Linked DNA regions of Homo sapiens: region 2 is linked to region 1. The links are contacts of gene promoters, found by promoter capture Hi-C in blood cells and fetal thymus (Javierre and others, 2016). All regions are on one chromosome and are shown on one strand. Each heading gives the region's core, a stretch centred on a gene start or on the middle of the fragment in contact. The rest is flanking DNA. Distances are from core to core; before and after follow the strand shown. Region 1 holds the start of SYNPO2 (synaptopodin 2). Region 2 overlaps SEC24D (SEC24 homolog D, COPII component).

Evidence for each region. Contacts are between HindIII fragments. The CHiCAGO score rates a contact against its expected background, and 5 or more counts as called.
Region 2: a fragment that was not itself captured here is called in contact with the fragment with the promoter of SYNPO2 in region 1 in 1 of 17 cell types (total B cells); the score reaches 10.2 in total B cells.

The regions. Positions count from the first base shown.
Region 1 is chr4:118,886,095-118,893,828 of GRCh38, reverse strand. SYNPO2 (synaptopodin 2) reads right to left here and starts at 4,975. Exons shown (of 5, transcript NM_133477.3): 1 at 4,688-4,975. The coding sequence starts at 4,792. The HindIII fragment of the contact is 15,302 bases long and covers 4,844-7,734 here.
Region 2 is chr4:118,739,368-118,744,021 of GRCh38, reverse strand. It overlaps SEC24D (SEC24 homolog D, COPII component), which reads left to right. Exons shown (of 23, transcript NM_014822.4): 15 at 1-34; 16 at 2,985-3,081; 17 at 3,214-3,359. Among named protein-coding and RNA genes, the nearest start is that of METTL14, 56 kb to the right of the region's middle. The HindIII fragment of the contact is 760 bases long and covers 1,638-2,397 here.

The DNA of each region.
Region 1 (7,734 bases), core at 3,726-6,225:
ATATACAATACGTTATTATCAACTATAGTACCCTGCTGTGCAGTAGAACATCAGAATTTTTTGGCCTTAACTTTCTATAGCAGTGGTTGTGAATCTTGACCACACATCAGAATTCCCTTTGGAATGTTTATAAATCCTGATGTCCAGGGTGAACCCCAGACCAATAATGAAATCAAGGTTGGGTACAAACTATGGTATTTATTTTAAATAATCTTTCCTTTTGGGACCACTTTAACCTACTTTTATCCTCTCGGGCACCTGTTTCCACCAATAAGGAAGAAGAAAAATCAAATCTCATCATTTTTTGTAGCTTAACCATTGGCAAGCAATGTAGCCTTTCTGTGCCACAATTTCCTCATCTCTAAAATGAGGATTTTTTCATACCTACTGTTTAGGTTTTGAGGAACATTTGAAGAGATAATACTAGCAAAGCACTTGCAAATTTTCCTGGCACATAGCAAGGGCTTGACACATGTAAGCTACATATGTGCTACGTCCAGCTAATGGCAAAGTTCATGCATAATGAATATTTTATCTCATTGTCATCTTTCAGAAACCTCCCTTAAAATATACAATTCCAAAATAAGGATTTTTTAATATCGCCTACTTAATAGATTTATCTAGAGCACACTAACTTCTATAAGCATGTCTGTGTTTAAAATTCCTAGAAAGGGCTTAAAATCAATTTAAAGATTAAGTGATTAAGCATATTTTAATAAAGATATTACCAGTTTTCATATATAGGAAGGAGCATTTATTCTCAAGTATACATATTCAAACACATTAAAATCTTTTTCCCCCTTTAGAAATACCTATGTTTCTGGAATTCTTCTATTTGAAACATTTTAAAAACCTTACTGATGGCACTAAGGGATAAGAATTATATTATCTGAAATGTGCTTTGTGTAAATAATACATTTTTATTCAAAATCTTAAAGAACACATATCCAATAATAGATAAGAATTATTAAATTCATTTTGGCCTTATGAAATGAAGGATTATACAATGTCACCTCAATTTTAATGAACAATTATTTGAAACTTTGAACTAAATTCAGTAGAACACATACTATAGTGGTGCATAAGATTTGAAGAAAAAATAAATTTCTAACTATATTAAAACATATAAAGGATAAACAGTCTGAACATTTTTTTCTTAATTATTTTCAAAATGTGAGTAATTTTTCAATTGCAGGTAAGATTTTTTGTAAAACAAAAATTTCTCCCCACTCCTTTATATGAGGATTTTTCAAAGTGATTTGCCAAAAGTATGTCCTGAGACAGGGCCAGATAAGTACATGTCCCAAAAGAGAGAGTTTCATAAAGAAGAAGTGCTCACATTCTTTTTGTAAAGCTATCTGCACACACAGTGGGGTTTTCTGTTTGGATAAATTTGTTTCTGTTTATAATCTCTTGAAAATATACTTTGCAGAGTGTTATGCTATAACTCAGTGTTAGAAATGTTTGCCTCCCATCACATATATTTAGAATATAAATTAAAAGATATACAAACATTTTAAAAACAAGCTTATGTTACTGATTACTTGGGCTTTTAAAAATTTGGTTTATTTTTTAAAACAAAACAGATTTTCGTGCCATTGAGCTTAACCGTCAATGACAAGTTTTGATAATGAATATTCCTGTTATTTATCTTTAAAATTTGGGGTTTGCGTATAGTTCAACCAGCTAACCAAATACTAAACATGTTTGAACATATCTCAGAAGTGACTAAATATGTCAATATAAGGATATTTATCGGGAATTATAAAGTTATTCAATTTTTTATTGTTCTTAATAACATTAGACTGTTTTTTTGCACTATTTCTGCCTGTTAGATTTTTACTCTATATAGAATTATGAAAAACCTAAATATGTAGATATTTCACAAAAAGCCAAAATGTGTTATTGTCTACAGAACTGCTTTGTAGCATTCCCATTTTAAGGAGCATGGTTCAAGCACTCGCCGAAATTTTCTTTTCTTTGAAAATTTAAGTTTTCCTTCAACTCCCAAATTAATTTTGTGCATGTTATTCAAAACTGTGAACATTTGATTTGACAGCAACCATCTCTCTAGCCTTTCTGTCTCTTTCCTTGCATCCAGCCCTAATAAGCTATCACCAGTCCTTACAAGAAGAGAAAGTTTATGCCCAAGCAACATTCACTTTGCCTTGAACACATTGAGATACCATGAATAGAATTGAATTGACTTAATATTTTAAATAAAATACAGTGATCCTAATGAGGCAATGGCCTTGATAACAGAGAAAGTGATAAGCGCTTTGTTCCAAGGGATTTCTCCCACAAATAATGCTAGTATAAGAAATCAAACATAATCATTTGAACTAAAAAAAGAAAAAGACCAACAAAAATTGTGCATTGCCACAGTAATTTAGAACTTACATCTTCTATAGATAGCTCTTTAGTCTTTTTAACGTATGGACAAAAGGTAGACTGTAGACTACAGTCTGTCTCTCTCTCTCTCTTGCACACACAAACACACAAAAATTAAGGCAAACTTCCAGATACTTTTATAATGATATTTTAAAATCTATAGCTCTAAGTATAGTATCACAAACTACAAAAGCAAAGCAAACATCTAGATGCCTTAATAATGATCTTTTGAAAACCACAAATGTATTGCTGGGTATTTTAGGAAGGATGATTTAGGGGGAGTGTAGGACTGGATTCTGACATAGCCTAACAACCTTACTGAATCCTGAAAATAGAGATGCCATTAGCAGAGAATCTCCACAGCACCCTTTCCTAGCAATCTGCTTCAGCTCTTCAGTGAATCGCCGCAAAGAGGTCCCACATTGAAATCGTCACATGCAGAACTCAGAAGAAACCCACTACCCACTCTATTCTTGAGGCCTGGCTGCCAAAGAGCCACCAGAGAACAACAGCACTCAGCCACTCTGTCCCCATATTTCAATTAGTAGGCAAGCGATTCTAAAACTGTACACTATCAGGATCGTAGAATACTTGGGCAAGACAGAGCTTCGTAGACTGCACAGTCCAATTTCTTTCTTACTTCTTTACCACCTAAGTTAAAATATTTGTCTCTCTCTCCCTACACACACACACACACACACACAGAGAGAGAGAGAGAGAGAGAGAGAGAGAGAGAGAGAAACCGATGAGACAGGAAGGGTGAGAGATTTTCCTAAGGCCAGGCTGCAAGTTAGATCAGAGCTGGAATTAGAACCCAAATCTCATACCTAGAGCCAGCCAACTGCTATTCTAGACTCAGGACAAATCTGCTTCAGTGTCATGAATTCTACATATGCTAAATTGGGCATTCATATTTTATCTGAGGTTGCCTGCTATTGACTCCTAAAGGAACCCAACAAAACCACCTTTCTGAGCCTTTAATCACTCTGCCAGTTCCAAGCTGAAAACTTAAGGCAAGTTACTTAACATCTCTGGGCTCTTTCCTCATCTAAAATTCATGGGTTGAACTGCAGACCTCGGAGGAACTTTCCAGTAATAAAAACTCTGCTTTTCATCTACTGTTTTATGGTTCATTCTTGATGTTTGCAATTTTCACTAGGTGGCAGGATTCCACCATCACATTACGAAAGGATTTACATATGATGCCTGGAAGCAAAAAGGAGTTTCAAAGAAACTTCTTTCTTCGCAAAGGACACTAAAAAAAAAAAAACGTAAAAGGCAGAGGGAAACAATAACTACAAAAAAAAAAGAGTAAAAGCCAGAGGGAAACAAACAATAACTACAAAGGCAATGGCCCATGTATTTCATAAAGATCTGTACCCATTTTTAATATAAGCATAAAATAGGAAATTAATCCCATGCTCTTGCATGTTCTTCAATACAATACTATAATTTGCAATTTGATGATAAGGTTAGGTAAAAGTTTGCTTAGTTTTGTGCATTTTAAGTTTTATTTTAGCTGAATGCCAATTAGAGAATACCAGATCCCCTTGGGCTAACCAGTAATGCAGGCAATCTAATGGCAATAAAAACTTAAAGCATTTTAAATAGTTATTAATGTGTTACAAAGTTACCTCTTAGTTACTCATAATATATTTAGATTATCTTCTAAGTTTATTTTTGAGATCTTGACCAAAAGAGTACATAAGAAGGAATACAGCATTTATTGGATTTTTGCATTTATTTGTCAAATCCTTAAAAGGGTATTCTTTTAAATAGATTTTATGACACTTCATCATACTTTTAAAATTATTGCCCAACATTGGCCTTTTCATGAATGCTGCATAATAAATGTCACTACCAACACTCTATATGAGTCCCCAAAATAGCCAAGCAAAGTCGTTATGCTGAACTGAGCGTTTCTCCTCTGCCAGAGCCAAGTGAAGTGACATCAAACAATAACTCAACTGAACATTCTAAAATTGCCTGGAAGAAACGCTCCCCAGTGTCTTGCTTGTTGTCAGAAGAACATGGTTAACTAGGCCTTTTCCTCAGCTGATAAATATGGCATTCTTCCCACCCACCCCTCATCGATTGCAAGTTAATTACATAGGATGTGGCCCATTACTCTCCAAAGTTTCTTAGAAAATAACTCACTTCCTAGAAAAATCTTAATATCCGCAGCAAAATCAAATAATACTTAGACTTCTGCATCAGAACCTGAAAACACCATCAGCAGGTTGCTTTCATTCCTTCCTTCCTAGCACAGAGCCGTGACACTTCGTTCAGGTCCTACCTTTGCAACTTGTAAGGGCTGCTTCTGCTCCTTGCCACCTTGCAATCTGAACCCCCAGGGCGCCCCTCCAGTCATGGAAATGCAGATAAAATCCCCTGTGCCCATGTTTTCCTTTTAGTTGGGCAGCATGAAGAGCTTGACGAGACAGACGAAGCTTGGGTGCGGTAGAGGATGCGCACTCAGCTTCGGGCGCCTGCCGAGGACGCAAGACTGGGTAATGCAGAGCGTCCGCCGCTGCTGCAGCCGCTGCCCCAGCCGCCGCCCCAGCCGCCTGCTGCGAATTTGTGCGGCTAATGGGCTCATTCTCAAGGAGGCAGAGGCGCTCGCAGCATCCAGGACACAGCCCACTCTTGCGTCACTCTCCTTTGCTCGGCCCACCTTCGAGGAAAGGAAAGCAGCTTCACACACAGGAGAATGTCCTCACGTGGGGCGAGATAAGGGAAAGGAGGACGGAAGGGAGAGCCAAAGTTATCTTGCACTAACAGATTAAATCCAAGCAGTTAATGGTATAAGTATGATTGAAAAACTTACATTTAATAATTCTGTAAATAGTAAAGGACACATGAAGGTTTAATCTCCACGCCATGAATGACGTCCTAAAATAGGAGCGTTGGGAATTCAACTACTAGAGGATTAGATTCTCTCAAATAAATGTTTTGAGACTTGCCACATTTATGAATGGAATAGACAAAAAAGAGTTAAAATGAGTTAAATTACTACTTTTCTGTCTGCATTCTGCTGAATTATTCCTATAAGAGGAAACAAAAGAAAGCACAAACTTTTTGTTAATAAACCTCCAGCTCTGAAAAGTACCTTTCTGAACCATATATTTAGAGAAAGGGGAAGAGAAGAGACAGAAAGGGAGAGAGAAAGAGAGAAAATGAATATGAATTTTTCTCCTGGAAACTACATTCTTATAATTACATCTATTGCATAGTTTTGGGTATGTTAAATTTTAACGTGTTTTGTTTTCTTTCTACCTGCTGATCTTCTTAAACCCAAACCCAACAGTTAGTCAACTGCATAAAATGTACAATGTCACCTACAGGTTTCTTATTTTTATAGTTTGTCATCCCATGTCATGAATCTGGGTGGTCCAATATAAAAGCAGATTTTGTATATTCCAAATATTTAAATGTTTTAAATCTGAATACAATCTGCCAAAAATGTACAAAAAGGACATTTTAATTTTCCTATAATACTTTTGTTTTCCATAACATTCATCCACATAAAAACATACTAAATAAGGAAGAGCCTGGGAAAGTTTGTTTGTGTTACTTGTGGTACCAAACAAAATTTCCAGACACGCTGCCTGTTTCAGCACTAAGAAGCACTATATACAGTAAGTCCTCACTTAAAACGTCACAGATAGGTTCATGGAAACTGTGACTTTAAAACCAATTTTACCATCGACTAATTGATAAAAACAAGGTTAAGTGACTACAGTCTATTTCTGGTCACAAAGACATCACCAAACTTTTAAATAAGATTAAAACACTTCTAATATTAAACATGGAAATAAATGTCAGCTACACATGCATTTAAGAAAGATTAATAAAAACAAGATAATCATGGACCCAATTTTTGGTGAATCAGTGAGTGAGGGCAGCTGTAGTGGTGGTGGATTCAATCAAGGAATAAATGTTTGCAAAAGGAAAATTATAAGGAGTACCTCCTGTCACAATGCAGTTCAAAACCACCACAAATATAGCAGGCTCACTGAGAAATTTCATACAGCATCATCTATTGCTGTGCATTTGTGTGATTAACATATATTTTATGAATTTTTTTTGAAAATAATTTGCATCCATACATTCATTCCTCCTCCAACCCACTTATTCCCATTCAGGATCTCCAGTGGCTTGAGCCTCTCCCTGCAGCTTAGGGCGCAAGGCAGGAATCAGCCCTGGACAGCCCTGACCATCCCATCAGAGGGTGCACACACACACACACACACACACACACACACACACACTCACTCAGATGGGGACCATTTAGACATGCCAGTTCATCTCATGAGCACAGCTTTGGGATGTGGCAGGAAACCAGAGGACCTGGAGAAAACCTATACAGACATGGGGAGAACTTTCAAACTCCATACAAACAGTGGCCCCAGCTGGAAATACATTTTTTTTTCTCATCAATGTTGTCATGAAACAATGTTGAATAAAATGGCATTATTCAAGGACCTGTGGTACAATGAACATTTTACACAGCCCATGCTCCCCAGAAGCCAAAGGCATCAAGTGATTTTATTTGTGACTCATCACTGGAGTGAGGACAATGAAATCAGAGATTGTGGCACTGGAAGAGACCCTTTGAAGGTCATGAGGGCCAGATACTCATCCCAAGTTTGATTCTTTTCAGAAACACGAATTGACTTTCCCAGTCTTTCCTTTAAACAATAGTTACAAGAGACATCATAAAATATGAGCTTTGACACTAATTACAATAGCAAAGACTTGGAACCAACCCAAATGTCCATCAGTGATAGACTGGATAAAGAAAATATGGCACATATACACCATGGAATACTATGCAGCCATAAAAAAAGAATGTGTTAATGTCCTTTGCAGGGGACATGGATGAAGCTGGAAGCCATCATTCTCAGCAAACTAGCACAGGAACAGTAAACCAAACACCACATGTTCTCACTCATAAGTGGGAGTTGAACAATGAGAACACATAGACACAGGGAGGGAAACATCACACACTGAGGCCTGTCGGAGGGTGGGGTACAAAGGGAGGGAGAGCATTACGACACATAACGCATGCGGGGCTTAAAACCTAGATGACGGGTTGATAGGTGCAGCAAACAACCATGGCACATGTATACCTATGTAACAAACCTGCATGTTCTGCACATGTATCCCAGAACTTAAAGTAAAAATTTTTAAAAAATGAGCTCTGAGAACAAAGAAAAAAAACACTTTCATATTTGTTCTTTTTACTTTTTCATGTCCCTTCTGCTCCTCAATCCACTCAAGTCTAGCTTCAAATTAGTGATGGTGTCCTCCTTAAATCATTTCTCCCTTAGGCTTCTTGGG
Region 2 (4,654 bases), core at 768-3,267, 150 kb after region 1:
TGGAGGAACCCTTTACAAATACAACAATTTCCAGGTAAATGCCAGCAATTTGTTCACCTTGGTCTTCTACTCCCATTTTAATTTTGTTGTTTAGATTATAGGTTTAAAAAGCTGTGTTCCCTGGTGGGTAGATGACACATATAAATTCAAGAGCAGATGGAAAACAAAGTATACCGTTGGTCCTTTTTATAAGGAGAGTTCTGCATCTTGGCTTCAACCAACCTCGGATCAAAAATACTCAGAACCAAATATTGCATTATACTGAATATGTACAGACTTTTTTCTTGTCATTATCCCCTATAGGATAACAATTATTTACATAACGTTCACATTGTATTGGGTATTACAAGTAACATAGGCAGGGCACAGTGGCCCAATGCCTGTAATCCCAGTGCTTTGAGAGGTTGAGGTGGGAAGATCACGTGAGGGCGGGAGTTCAAAATCAGCCTGGGCTACATAGCAAGACCCTGTCTCTACAAAAAATTTAAAAATAAGTAACCTACAGGTGATTTAAGGGACACGTAAAATGTGTGTAGGTTATATGCAAATATGCCATTTTATGTCAGGGACTTGAGCATCTGGTGGAGTTTGGTATCTGTGGGAGGTTCTGGATCAAATCCCTCACAGATAACGAGAGACAACTGTGTGTGTGTGTGTGTGTGTGTATATATATATATAGGAACCATATATATTTATGGTTCGGCAATTCCATACTTCCTAAGTGTTTGGTGATAGAATGAGCTCATTCATCCTCAGAGTCAAATATCAATGTGAGCTTTCATAATGGAGAAAAATATATTTTATGTAAAATATACTTAAGATAATGTTTTTAAAAGTGACTGCATATTTGTTTTAAATTATTGGGATTTTAGGGATCAATTCATTACACTTCTCTTTTCCAAGCCTGATTGAGAGAGATATTCAAGAGACAATCAAAATGTCAGCACTATAATGGGCCTGAGTCTGCAGGCAAGTGGGCTTGCTGATTCACCCCTGAATTTCACAAACTTATGCGCCCCGGCACAGAGTGGGCACGATCTGAGTTTCTCCTGTGGACCCCTGTGCCTTGAAAAAAACACTGTATTGAGGGACAGAAAATATGTGCCTCCTGCAGGCAAGCTGCCTTCCTATGGAGAGGACCCAGAAGAGGCTGGGCTGTGCCCACCCAGTTCCTTTTCCCAAACTTATTAATCAGATGAGTCACTCCCCATCACCTAAGGAGAAGGGGTCAGGGGTGTACCTCTAATGTGTGTGCCTGGGCAGGCGTGGAGGCATGGACTGGGAAGGTGTATTCTCCAACATAAATGACAAATGTTAGTCATCATCTGTTTTTATTAATCATCAATAAAATTATGAATAGAGACTAGTTACATATTTCTTTATAAACTAAGGGACTTGATAAGACCAAAGATTGTAAATGAAATAAAATTGAAAAAGCTTTAACAACTCTTTCTAAGACTTCTGGATAAAAGTATGTTTTTTCAGATACACTCTAGAAAATAAACTTTTAATAATCATACAGAATTCTGACCCTTACTGATTCTACCCACATTCTGGGTATTGAGGTACATGAAGCCTACCATGCTAATCAATTTTAGCTCCTTTTCCAGTTAGGGGGATAAATTTCATCAGAAGCTTTCCCCCCCCCACTTTTCCAAAAAGGACTTTATCATCTTCCATTCCTGGCATATGTGAATTGTGCTGGGGTTCTTGCTAGGTCCTTTGCTATGTACTGGTGTGATCATCTACATGGTAGTGACTTGGCTTCAAAGAGCAGCCTACCAAGTGATGTGTAGGCAGGGGGTGCTCTGTGGTGTAATCATCCAGGCTTATTACTTTTTTTTTTCTATTTAAGTTTTTGAGTTACTTGCCAACCCCATGTCATTTCTGATATAAAAGGATATTTACTTGTACCTCAGTGTATCCATAATTATTACTGATTCTTTCAATGTTACTAAAAAAGAAATGTTATAATGCAGCAGAGGAAAAGCCAGTAAGATGTAAACAGGCAGTAAAATATTTTATAATAAAAGAGTGTTAATGTTGCCTATGCTGCCATTCAGTTGTTTGTTTACTCCAGTTGTTGCAAAACTGAATCCTGCCGTAGCATTTCTTTCTTATCTTCAACAATACAAATTTTAATAGTCTTTTCCATTCAATAACATTGTAAGATAAAAATGATGGTCAAGAACTATGCAGGCACCACCCAGTTGTATGTAAGCAACTAAAGGGATTATTGTAAAGATTGTGTCTATGATCTCCCTCTTTCCTTTCCTCCTTCATTCCCTTCGTGTTTGGGACTGGGGGGAAGGGATGAGATGCGTGCGTCAGTGTCTCTCCTATGTGTCAAGTAGTAGTGAGAATTTCCTAAAGAGTTTCACTGACAGATGAGAAGCTTTAGAAGCTCAGCTAGTTTGTTTCCTCTCTTGGGTGACCTCTGAGCTCAGTATTGTGCACATGTGCATATTATATAAATGTTGCTTAGTTGTGGAATGTGGACAGTTTTCAGAAATACGGTGATCGTAGAGTAGTTAACAGGGCTAGGAGAAGGGGTTTCTACTTTCCCTGACATAGCTTCACAAAGCTCTGAATGTGGTCAGACTTAAAAAGCCCCAATTGCAAGGTCTTTCCCTAGCCTCATTAAACGGGTATTATACATTGGGTCTTAACCTTGTCTCTAACCCTAAGCCACTGAGTGGATCACTTATGCTCTCTTAATTTTCCCATTTGCAATTAATAACCGATTTTCTCATCCAAGTGTTAAAATGAAAGAAAATAATAGATGAGATTTTAGTTTCAAAAGTTAAGAAACACTGTCCAAAAATGCTATATTTTCTTTAACCAAAGAAGCATAATATATAATAAAAAAATATGCTAAATCGGGATTTTAAAAATAATTATTATAACTCAGGATTAAAATGAGAACGTTATTTTAAGTATTTTACTGCCATCTGGTGGACATTGATTAGACTTTTATTTTTTAGATGCACTTGGATAGACAACAATTTTTGAACGACCTCAGAAATGATATTGAAAAGAAAATAGGCTTTGATGCTATTATGAGGGTTCGTACCAGCACAGGTAATTATCATTTATACAATTCTTCGGGTCTCTCTTGAATAATTGTTTCTTTTTCAAATTAATAACAGGCCAACAAAGAAAATAACAGTAGAATAAAGACAAGCAAAATTTCCCTTTTTCCCTTATCTTTAGGTTTCAGAGCCACTGATTTCTTTGGTGGAATCTTGATGAACAACACCACCGATGTAGAAATGGCTGCCATCGATTGTGACAAGGCAGTGACCGTGGAGTTCAAGCACGATGACAAACTCAGTGAAGACAGTGGAGCCTTAATCCAGGTGATTGAAAGTGTATTCCCACCTTTCGTTATTTTAGTTTGTTGCCGACAATGATCAGTGGGGAGACTGAAATACCATCAAATGTGTTAGTCTCTTCATAAAAAAATTCAACTCTTTCTCCAAAGTCAAAAGTCAGTAGATTAGAACACTCAGTTGGGAGGTTTCTCCATACTCATTCATATTTGCTACTTATATGAAGTGACAATTATGTGTCATTGCATGCAAGTCCAGCAAATTTGTGGTAAGTATCACAGGCATCAGCAAACTGACTTCCAACGGTATTCACTTCTGTTAGGCTTCAGCACCTATTCACATCTACCATATGAATATTAATTTGCTAGGGCTGCTATAACAAACACTACAGAATAAGCAGCTTAAACAACAGAAATTTATTTTCTCACAGTTCTGGAGGCTGGAATTCCAAGATCAAGGTTTCTGAGGGCCTAGAGGGAAGGATCTGTTCCAGGCCCCTGTCCTTGGTTTGTAGATGGTTTTCTTCTCCCTGTGTCTTCACATCATCTTCCCTCTGTTACATGCCTATATCCAAAGTTTTTCCTCTTATAAGGACACCAGTCATAGTGAATTAGGGTGCACTCTAATGAACTCATTTTAATTAATTTACCTCTTTAAATACCTCATCTCCAAATACTTAGGTACTAGGGGGTTAGGACATTTGAGGAGCCACAGTTCAGCCCGTAATACGATGTTAAGCAAGTGGAATAGGATTTGGCTTTCTTTAAAGTGAAACTAACTAGAAGCCATAGAGACTGAATTAAAACAAGAAAAACTATGACCACTAGATATACATGGTCATAGTTTCCAAACATTGGCATCATCTTTAAAGGATGAAGAGAGGCTGGCATTAGGTTGAAGAAGAACTTTTAACTAAAGTTTATTTTTTAATCACATATATTTGGTGAAATGCTTCTATCTATGCATTCTTCAAATGTATATCATCAGCATAAGACCTAAGTCCATTGTGAAAGCTAGTTGTATGTTTTTAAGAAAGTGAGCCTTGAGTAGGGCTCTGAGCACATGAAGGTATTGTTTCTGCCCCTGGATCCCTGGTAATAAAACATGAGCTATGAAAAATGCAGACTAGTTGTAGAAATGTGAAATAGATATTTACATGTGAATCACTCAACAATTTAAACCAGTGAAGTGCTACATTGAAACCCAGCAAATGAATGGGTCATTATTCTCCCATATTTCCTGTTGTTCATTCTTTAACAATAATAGAAAAAAAACTGTGGAAAAATAGTTAGAGGTCTTTTATCTATCTGTACACAGTGTTT